Regions from separate parts of the Homo sapiens genome. Here regions 2 and 3 are each linked to region 1. Evidence: promoter capture Hi-C in 16 types of primary human blood cells and fetal thymus (Javierre and others, 2016). All regions are on one chromosome and are shown on one strand. The core of a region is centred on a gene start or on the middle of the fragment in contact, and the rest is flanking DNA. Distances in the headings are between cores, read along the strand shown. Region 1 holds the start of PPP1R17 (protein phosphatase 1 regulatory subunit 17). Region 2 has its middle 47 kb from the start of PDE1C. Region 3 has its middle 7.7 kb from the start of PDE1C.

Region 1 (3,554 bases), core at 459-2,958:
AAACCTTTTGGTTTTCAAAATGTTTCAGATTTCTTAATTAGAGAATGAAAGAGTATTGATCGAATTACTCTTCTGGTTGTGGTTGTTTGACAGAATGTAGGTATTCAGTGTAGTATGCAAGAGACCAAGAGATATGATTTCAGGGTTTGAGAAAGGATTTCAGGATTTCAGATTTTAAACTCTTGTAACTTCCTCTTACTAATCCTTACCTTCCTTTTCACAAGGGACAAAACCTTTCTTTTTACAGAGAGATACTTGTAAATGCAAATACCACTAAGAGCAGCAATATGTAAATTGATGTCACAATACACAGGGATTGTTAATGACAAAGGTCACCTTCTCTTTTGAGAACAGGAACTGAAAGGGGGAAGGAACTGGGTGCCAGAAAAGGGACCCCACTATATTGCAGAAAGGCAGGCACACCAGCGGAGCTGAAACACATTAGTTGGTTCAGTGTGTGGTCAGAAGCTGGTCTGGATTTTTTGTCTTTTCTCTTATCATTGAGCGGTTTTCTCAGTTGGATGTGAGAATATGCGGTTTAAATTATGGGAAGAAAATTCCTCTCAACTTTAAGATTGGATGCTGTGAGTCAATATAAGGTAGAAGCCAACGTTTGGCTGCTTGTACCACTCTCTAGCTGGGTGAACTTGGGACAGTTATCTGTTCTCTCAAAAATTTAGTTTTCAAATCTGTTAAATGGGGGAAGATAGTGGCTCTTCTCCAGGGTTGTTGAGAGTATTACCCATAGAATGTGCATGGAGTCCCGAGCCCAGGTCCTACACACTGATATTTTCGTGAGTGTGAGGGACCTTCTTGGATCTTTCAGTCCTCCATTTGTGATTATATGTCTATCTAAATTGATCTATCAGAATTATCTCTTTATCCCATCTCTGGCCTTCTCTGAAGCTGGTAATGAGATGAGAATAGTTCAAGACAAAAACCAACCCATTTCTAAATCTTGGGAACATAATAGAACTGATTCTCAGAAGCGAGTTGACACTTAGCTTACCATACGGTATTCTGAAGAATATCCCCCAAAGTAATCAGGTCTTGATTTACTGGATGGAATAAAAGGGTAGAAGGTTGTATCCACAGCCTATGTGGTATCTCGTTAATGCACCCTCTGGCTATGTAAAATACATATTCATTGTCAAACCTCTTTTTAACCAGAGGATTGAATTCAGGTCAAAAAGTACCGTCTTTTAAAATCAGATTTGTTCATTTAGAAAACCTAAATTGGCAGTATTCCTGGAGGAGAGACTGACTTAAAGTAGGGCATGGAGAATGTGTTTTGAGAAGCATACTTTCTGTACTTTCCCCAGCCTTGGAAGATAAACCTCTCTATCCTGTGTGAATATGCAGATACACCAACTTCATCTTGAAACTTTGCAAATGAGTTTGTGAGGGTTCAGTCTTTTACAGAACTCCATTCCCTCCCTTGGAAGAATGACTTGAAAGTGGTAACTTTTTCTGCTGTCCACTCGGCCCCAGCTTAGCCTTGCTCCATAAAGCACAACCCCGTGCCACCAGCTACAGCCTTCTTTGTCCCAGTAACTGACTGGAAACTTGCTTTTCTCACCACAAAAGTTCTTGGAGTAAAAATCTGAAGCACTTACCAATCAGCGCAGATGCAGGGAAGCGAAGGCGAGAGACAGGGAGGGCGTGTGTGCTCACCGAGGCTGGGCCTGGCTCCTCTGCGGCAGTGGCTGCTGCTGGCCGGCTCCAGCTCCTCTTATCTAGGGACCAGCTGCTGCTGTTGCCATGGGGATGCTCTGTTTCACAGGCACCAGGGCAAGGGGGATGGAGAAGGAAAGAGGACTAACATCTCCATCGCTGCTCTCCACGGCAATCATTGTACATTACAAAAGTACAGTATAGAGTCGTGCTTTGAGTTTCCGGTGTGCACACCAGAGAAATTCAGACAAACCAGCTACATCATTGAATTCCCATGCGATAGATTTTTTTTGGCCTGATTTTGTAAATATGGAAACTGAGGCACAAGAAGTTAAGTGATATGCCCAAGAGAGGCCACAGCTAATTTCGACTCTCAAAGCTATTTAAGTTTAAATCCAGAGTACTTTCAATCACTATTGCTGCTTCTCAAAGTACTATCATGAGGAGGAAGAGAAGGGTAGCTACTGCTAACATTTATGTAAGGCTACCAAAATGCCAGACACTCTTCTAGAGACTTCACACATATCTACTTACTTAACCCTCAGGCCAACCTTGTGAGATGAGCTACAGTCATCATCCCATTTTATTGATGAGGAAGCTGGGGCTCAAGAGTTACCAAATCATCTGACCAAGGTCTCCCCACATGGTGAAGCTAGGGTTTGAATGGGGTAATGAAATGCTAGGGTCCACGCTTGTAACCACTTTGCAATACCTCTCAGCAAAGAGAGCATTTCAAACAGCACATAGCAAAGAAAGCAGCCCCCAACTCTATAGGTTATAGTGTGCAGGCCAGAAAAAATTTCCTCCTTCAAAGGAACAAAGCCAAATGTACCAATATTAGGAATACGTAGGCACTCAAGAGTGGATGTTTAAGCAAGGTGGGAGAGGCGGGAGACATGCTGTCTTTTGGAGAGGAAGGTTCTATGTTTTGGGTCTGCTCACTGGAGGAGAGCCCACTGGGGTTTGGAGGAGCAGCAGTTTTGACTCCAAAGCAGGAAGGCCAGTCTGGGAGATCAGGTAGGTATCAGGACCCACTAGAAGGGCTCCAGACCCCCTGATAGCAGCCAATGGACCACCCAGTGATGCCCAAGAAATATGTTCTCACAGAAGATACGTGAGCACCATCCACACATCCATATTTTTTCCAGTCTTACCTGAGGTTCCCTGCAGAGCAGGTCCCTGGCAACCCCTTGGTTTCAACTGCCTGCTTGCCACTGGCAATGTGTTTGTTGGTGCCTCCCTCCCACTTGCCAGGATCCCAAATAACAGGGCTAGAACCATAGTAAACTCACCAAGAGGTTGACTCCTAGGGTTAGACTTTTGCCATGGTAACAGATAAGCAGAGAATGGACTTCTTTGCCTGTTCCATTTTGTGTTGATCCTTATTGGGACCTCCTGGGAAGAGATGAGGGTTGCTGAAAGGTGATGCTCTTGTCTAGGAAGGGAAGGCCCTAGATGTTGAGGGACAGGGCCTAGAAGCAGGTCTGTGTTCAAAACTGCCTGCTTTATCTTCTTCATTTTTTAAATTTTATTTTATTTTCAGTGCTGGGACACATGTGCAGGACGTGCAGGTTTGTTACATAGGTAAACGTGTGCCATGGTGGTTTGCTGGACCTATCAACCCATCACCTAGGCATTAAACCCTGCCTTACTTTATCTTCTTAACAACAGCCTTGTTGGCCAATGAGTTAGCAGCATCTTCAGTCCACACTTGAGTGGAAAAGATATACTTTCCTTCTGAAATCCTTGAATTCTTCTTTTGAATTAAACTGTTTTGAGGTAATAGATCTACATGTCGTTGTGAGGGATAATACAGGGAGATCTCCTATACGTAAGCAGTTATATCCAATGGTAACATCTTATGAAACTATCCTACAATA
Region 2 (3,554 bases), core at 572-3,071, 430 kb before region 1:
CTTCCAGTTTTCTCAGAATCCCCTTGAGTTTTTTGGTAGACTTGGAATTTGAGCATAAATAGAGGATGTCCAAGGATATCCATGATTGATGTGAACGGCAGGGATTCAGTGGGAGAGAGAGAGAGAAGGGAAAATAAAAACTAGCTTCCAGCTTGCCATTGAGGCTGGTTCCTTTGAGCTTCCCAGCTTCCCTGTCCCCATGCCTTGGGCACCCTCCCACACATTATCTGGCTTGATACTGCCTCTACCCCCCATCCTGGAGGAATTCTTCTAGAAGTTTTGGGTAGGAGCACAAGTTGGCCATATTACCACAGTATCACAAATGATCTAGAGAAACTGCAAAATGCTTTACAACTTAGAGGTATGCTGTGGTTTGAAAGTCCCATCTGAAACTCAGGTTGAAATTTAATTGCCATCATGATGGTATTAAGAAGTAGGACCTTTGAGAGGTGATTAAGTCATGAAGACTCTGCCCTCATGAATGGATTAATGTTCTCTTGGGAGTAGGCTGGTTTTCACAGAGTGGGCTCCTGATAAAAAGATGAAATTCAGTCCCCATTCCCTCTCTGTCTTGTGTGCTTGTTTGCCTTTCCACCAGATGCCAGCACCATGCTCTGTGGCTTCCCAACCACTAGAACAGTGAACCAAATAAATTTCTGTTCACCATAAATTATGAAGTCTTTGGTAATTCTATTGTAGCAGCAGGAACAAGACTATAAGATAAGGTAAAGGAAGGTCACGTTTTATTTTTATTTTTGAAAATAAAATCAAACTCGGCTCTAAGCCTCACTAGCTACGGTTAGGGGAAGAATTCTAATATTCATTTTTATTGGGGCTTTTTCCTCTCTACTGAATCATGCAAGGACCTTAGCACTTATATATTCTTGAACAGTAAAGAAAGAGCCTGGCCTTAAGTCCACGGTGATCACATTGTGAATATTTCTCTATCTGCTCACAGATGTTCCTTTTGGGACCTGGTCCTTTATGCTGTCAGGTTCTGCTTCTATACTTGTCTGTGGTGATGCTCACAGGATCCTTCCCCACTGACTGCATATTTAACCATGGCGATGCCATGTAACCCTCCACTCTCTCCTTAGCCCTTTTTCCCCAAAGCACTCGCATGACTTCCCAGGCTCTGGGAATCCAACCCTTAGGGAAAAGACAAGTCTGTCTTCCTCTTGTTGCATCAGTGTCCAGCTTGTCCTCCTCTTGCTCAATCTCTCCTAAAACATTGTCCTGTTAAAGCTTCCTTTAGGGTAACAGAAACCAGCCCTCAAGGATGCAGATCCCAGCTGGCTCCCTCTTGAGAGTGGATGGGAAGAAGCCTGAATTCTTTTGGCTGATGAGTTCACAACAACACCCCTTCCCCCAACCTTTAAATTAAAAGTACGAGACCAATTTAATTTATCAATAACTCACTCTATTCCAGAATTTCTTTAGTCATTCAGGAAAGAAAAGTGAGCAGTAGATTTTGAACACTCTTGACTGCAACCTGCCATAAGAAACACACCTCTAGCCAGAGTGATCAAGAAAATAAGTGAAAGGACAAATTACAAGCATTAGGAATGAAAGAGGGGACATTAATGTAGATCCTGGTATGCACATGTGTATATGTGTATGTGTGTGTCCACATTTGTGGTAAACTGACCAACTGTTAAAATGAGGGTAAAAGACTTGAAAACATAAAGAGGAGAAAGGGTTCTATACTGTAGTCAGAAGGCTTAGGTTCCAGTTATGGCTCTGATAATAATTTTGAGCAGGTCTATAAACTGCTAGGGGGCTCAGTTTTATTACCTATAGAAGAGCCTAACACATCTGCATTCATAGGCCCTGAGGCCCAGAAGGAATCTCATATGTGAAATCATCGTATGAACTATACAGTTCTGGTTACATATGACATAGTTTTCTTATAGTTGTTATTATTATTAGTGGAGCGTGGCCATAGTTTTTTGTCAAATAGTTTTGAAAGCCTATCTAGACAAACTGCTTGAGATTCTTCATATTTTCCTTTTGACCTTTAAAACAAAACCTCTACAGAGGTTTGGATAGAAAGAGAAGTTGACCATATCAAAATAGGTAGAAATTTCAAGGATATTTTCCTACTGATGGGCTTCTAGATGCCTACCAAATGAAAGTTTTGATTTCTGCCTTTTGCATCTATTTACTCTGAGGAGCCAAGAGGTAGAGATTTTTCACTTGTGTAGTTGAGCAATAACTTGTGTATAAAAGTGCTTTCCCCATATGGTTCAGGAAGTCATAGTGAGATGAGGAGTGTTAACACTCTGGATGCTTATTGCCATGAAATGGTCTATAGGGTGCTGTAGATGAACTTGTCCAGAGATGTGACTAAAGCTCTGGGAAGAAATGACCATGTGATTATAAGGGACATAAGCTTTATAATTCCATAAATTTGTAGTTCTAAGCAATAGCAAAAGGGGACAAAAATTATCTAATAGGGAATGTGGACTGACAAGGCTTTCAGGTCAACCTCCTGTATTCTGGCTTCTCACTCTCTAGCTCACTGCTTCCTCAGCTTCCAGATTTTCAAGGTTACTGCACCTTCTGTGGTTTCCAACAGCTCATCATTCCTCTCTCCCCAGGTGGTGAATCAGGAGAGGAAAATACAGGTGGCAGAAAAATTCTGGCACCTTCTCTTTTGCTGTTTTACATATGTATGCACCTATTATGAGCAGGCCCCCTGCCATTTGGGGAGGTCATTAAGGTGTTTACTTGGAATAAATCTGACAAACCCCTGCCTGCTTCTTGGTTATTATGATGTGTCAGCTTTGATCAGAGGCAATAAGGACACTCTTCTCCTATTCCCCCGAGAATAGCAGGTGTATTATCTTATGGGGTTTTCTGAGTACAGTTAGAAGCATCCTTTGGCAATGAAGTAAGTATAGCTCTGTGCTAGAAGGAAGATAAGTGCATCAAGTCTTCTACAAATTGAATAGCATATAAGCATGACATTACAGTTGTAGGTGCAGAAATAAAAGGGGAAATGCATTGACTAAGATGCTATAAAATCATCACATGAAGTTTCAAAGCACCCTGTAGTTCCATCCCACGGAAGTGTCATATTTAAGGACAATACCTTAATTGTGCTTATGCCTTTCTAATGTTTTAGGAATCTTAAGGGCTTGGTCTAAGAAAATTCTTTTTAAAGTCTCTCATTGTTTCTCTTTGTAGTATCCCAATTTCCTGAGATTTTTCTCATACTTGAGTAGACCTCTTTCACCCATGCCATTTTTTCCCTGCCATCTTGGTCTCTTAGTCATGCACAACTTTGTGTGATGGATTGCTGACAAGTCACATCTTTCCCCTGGGCAAAGTCTCACTGGGGGTAGAATTCTTGCCTCTGATGACAGTTCTCTTCAGAATCTGTCTGTATAGTTTTCATTCTTTCTTTCCTCAGAGAGCTGGGGACAAAGAAGAGAAGCTAAAAGGGCAAAGGAATTGGGGAATGAAGTCTCCTACATTTATAATTGTATCCCATAATGATTAAACTGTTACACTATTGTCGACCAACTATTTGGCAGATTGTCTAAAGTTGT
Region 3 (3,554 bases), core at 545-3,044, 390 kb before region 1:
TGAATCAGGGCTAGCTCTGTGATTGCTTTAACCAACCCAGTGTAGCAGAAGTGATGTTGTGCCGGTCCTAGGCTTAGCCCGTAAGAGGACTGGCCGCTCCTGCCTCCCCACTCTTGGCACACTTGCACTTGCAATCTAGCTGCCATGTACAGGAGCCTAATTTAGCTACATGCTGAGACCACGAGGAGAAACCGTGTGGAGAAAGAGAGAGGTCTCAGCCTTCCAGCTGTCCCTGCCAAAGCACCAGACATGTGAGTGAAACCATATTGGATATTCTAGCCCGGGTTGCCATCTGGCTACAGCTGCATGGCAGACCCCAAACAAGACCAACAGAAGAACTACCTGGCCAACCCACAGGATCATGAGAGAGAAAAATTGGTTGTTTTAAAAAGCCACTGAATTTTGAGGATAGTTTGTTACACAGCAATATAGCTGAAATGCCACCCTATTTATAAATAAATCATATTCCTTTTGTTCTCTGCACTGCACCCTGTTTTTCTTTTCAGCACCCTTTACCTTTACAGTGATGCATCTGTTGTTTTATAATCTGTTTAGTATCTGTTTTCCCAATTAGATTAAAGATCCATGGTGCAAAACTGGAGTATTTTAATTGACCATTGTATACCTAGTATCACAGAGTGTGCAGCACATAGTAGGCACTCAGCCAATGTTTGTTGAACGAATGAATGAATTTAAAAGGTTCCAGCATTTATTTGTTTTGTGAGATCATTTCCCTCCAGATACAGAGAAAAGAATCTGTAAATCTTCACCTTTGGTGGCCTTTCAAAAACAACCTTCGAAAATCCTGTTTTTAAATCCTTCTTTGCAAATCAAACTTCCACTTTGCATCTCCTACACACCTGCTCAACAGATTTTAATGCTTCCCTATTGGCAAGAGTATAAAGCCTTAGCATTTTCTTTTTTTTTTTTTTGAGAGAGTGAGTCTTGCTCTGTTGCCAAGGCTGGAGTGTAATCCTGTGATCATGGCTCATTGCAGCCTTGACCCCTGGGCTCAAGCAATCCTCCCAGCTTAGCCTCCCTAGTAGCCAGGGCCACAGGTGTGCACCACCACACCTGGCTAATTTTTAAAAATTTTTTGTAGAGACAGGGTCTTCCCATGTTGCCCAGGCTGATCTCCAACTCCTAGCCTCATGAGATCCTCCTGCCTCGGCCTCCCAAAGTGCCGGGATTATAGGTGTGAGCTACCATGCCTGGCCAAGCCTAAACTTTAATACGGTAGTCCAGGCCCCTTCAGTCTGCATGTATAGCCGTTGCCCAGTGTCCCTTTCTTGACCCTCTTACACCCATCACATCAGGTTCTCTGTTATTATCTAGGCTGCTGTGGACCTTTCCACTTTCCTGGAGCCTTTCTTCTCTACTTCTACCAATTCCCCAAGAGACCTCCTTTCTTCAAGAAGCATTTACCAACAGCCTATGCTTTTTAGTGGGCATCTTTTCTTAACTGAGCAAACCATTGAACCAGTCCTCCGTTGGAAGTGGGAGCCATTCTTGATCCCACAGAAAGTTTAGAGACAGTGGAGCACTGGGCTGGGAGTTCAGGGACATCACTTCTGGTCCAAGCTCTGCTGCCAACTTGTGTGGTGACTGCATGTGATTGAGCTGCTCGTTCCTTATCTGAAGAATTAGGAGCTTGGATAAAGATCCCTTTCAGCTCTGAGGTTTTTCCATATTCAAATTTGCTTTACAGTGATAGGAAGAACAACCCGCTGATTTATGTACCTTTGGGTCAGAATTTGGCTGACTTGTAGCATCAGCAGTTTTACGTGAACAAAAATTTCAATTTCATTAGTACAGCCAAGTTAATTATACTGGGTTGGCAGTGTATTCTGAGAGGCAGAATGTCCACGGAGCCAGAAGTCAGGAGGCCTGCACTGTCTTGCTGCCCTGCCACTAGCTGGAGGAGAGCAGACCAGCCGGAGGGAAGCTGGCAGACTTCTTGGACCTTCACCACCTCATTTCTAAACTGGAGGTAATAATAATAATAAAGTATGCCTGTAATCCCAGCATTTTGGGAGGCCGAGGCAGGTGGATCCTGAAGTCAGGAGTTAAAGACCAGCCTGGCCAAGATGGTGAAACCCCGTCTCTACTAAAAATACAAAAATTAGCCGGGTGTGGTGGTGGGTGCCTGTAATCCCAGCTACTCAGGAGGCTGAGGCAGAGAATTGCTTGAACCTGGGAGGGAGAGGTTGCAGTGAGCCGAGATCACACCACTGCACTCCAGCCTGGGCAACAAGAGCGAAACTCTGTCTCAAAAAAAATAAATAAATAAAATAAATTAAAAAAGTAAATAAAGTGTTTTCATTCACTTCAGGTTTGTTCTGAGGGATTAATGTATGTAATATAGCAATGATTTGATAGGTCATTATCAAAATGTAACTGAAAGAAAATTATCGGTATATCTATTTATCAAGATAATACAGGCTTTTTCTATTTACCTTGGGTGCTCTGCCCACCCCTAGATCCCTTTATAGTGTTCCAGTTTCTGTCCCTTTGTGTCCTGCCAGATGGATGAGATGGAAGAAGCACTACTATTTTATGAGAACCTCCAATGTACAAGGCACTGGCCATACGTGATTTTTTGTTTGTTTGTTTGTTTTTTAAGATAGAATCTTGTTTTGCTGCCCAGGCTGGAGTGCAGTGGCATAATCTCGGCTCACTGCAACTTCTGCCTTCCAGGTTCAAGTGATTCTCCTGCCTCAGCTTCCTGAGTAGCTGGGACTACAGGAATGTGCCACCACGCCTGGCTACTTTTTGTGTTTTTAGTAGAGATTGGGTTACACCACCATGGTAGCCAGGCTTGCCTTGAACTCTTGACCTCAGGCAATCTGCCTGCCTCGGCCTCCAAAAGTACTGGGATTACAGGCGTGAGCCACTGTGCCCGGCCCTGTTTTTTTTTTTTTTCTCCTTACAACATTCCTATAAGGAATAATTGTATTATTAGTTGGCATTCTTTTAGTTGTCAGTAACATAACTCTGACTCAAACTAGTTTAAGTTAAAAAAAATTGGTGGGGTACATTTATTTTGTTCATATAACCTAAAAGTCAATGGGCATTCTGGCTTCAGGCATAGCAGGATCAGGGGGCTCAATGGACCCTTTCACATTGTTTTTCTTTGTCTCTCTAGTTCTTCTCTCAGCTTTTTCTGTGTTGATGTCATTTTTTTTTCTTTTTTCTTTTTTTCTTTTTTTTTTTTTTTGAGATGGAGTCTCACTCTGTCGCCCAGGCTGGAGTGCAGTGGTGTGATCTCAGCTCACTGCAACCTCCGCCTCCCAGGTTCAAGCAATTCTTGTGCCTTAGCCTTCTGAGCAGCTGGGATTACAGGCGTGTGCCACCATGCCCAGCTAATTTTTATATTTTTTTCGTAGAGATGGGGTTTTGCCATCTTGGCCAGGCTGGTCTTGAACTCCTGACCTCAGGTGATCCGGCCACGTCGGCCTCTCAGAGTGCTGGGATTACAGGCATGAGCCACTGCACCCAGCCCTGATGTCATTTTTCTGGTATATTCTCTCCACATGGTGAAAAGATAACCCCAT

What was found. The method cuts DNA at HindIII sites, captures the fragments that hold promoters and counts their contacts. A CHiCAGO score of 5 or more calls a contact.
Region 2: a fragment that was not itself captured here is called in contact with the fragment with the promoter of PPP1R17 in region 1 in 1 of 17 cell types (neutrophils); the score reaches 9.0 in neutrophils.
Region 3: a fragment that was not itself captured here is called in contact with the fragment with the promoter of PPP1R17 in region 1 in 1 of 17 cell types (neutrophils); the score reaches 5.6 in neutrophils.

What each region holds. Positions count from the first base shown.
Region 1 is chr7:31,685,369-31,688,922 of GRCh38, reverse strand. It overlaps PPP1R17 (protein phosphatase 1 regulatory subunit 17), which reads right to left and starts at 1,708. Exons shown (of 5, transcript NM_006658.5): 1 at 1,617-1,708. It also overlaps a transcript of PDE1C not described here. The HindIII fragment of the contact is 9,056 bases long and covers 1-3,554 here.
Region 2 is chr7:32,115,664-32,119,217 of GRCh38, reverse strand. It overlaps a transcript of PDE1C not described here. Among named protein-coding and RNA genes, the nearest start is that of PDE1C, 47 kb to the right of the region's middle. The HindIII fragment of the contact is 1,147 bases long and covers 1,248-2,394 here.
Region 3 is chr7:32,076,306-32,079,859 of GRCh38, reverse strand. It overlaps a transcript of PDE1C not described here. Among named protein-coding and RNA genes, the nearest start is that of PDE1C, 7.7 kb to the right of the region's middle. The HindIII fragment of the contact is 4,044 bases long and covers 1-3,554 here.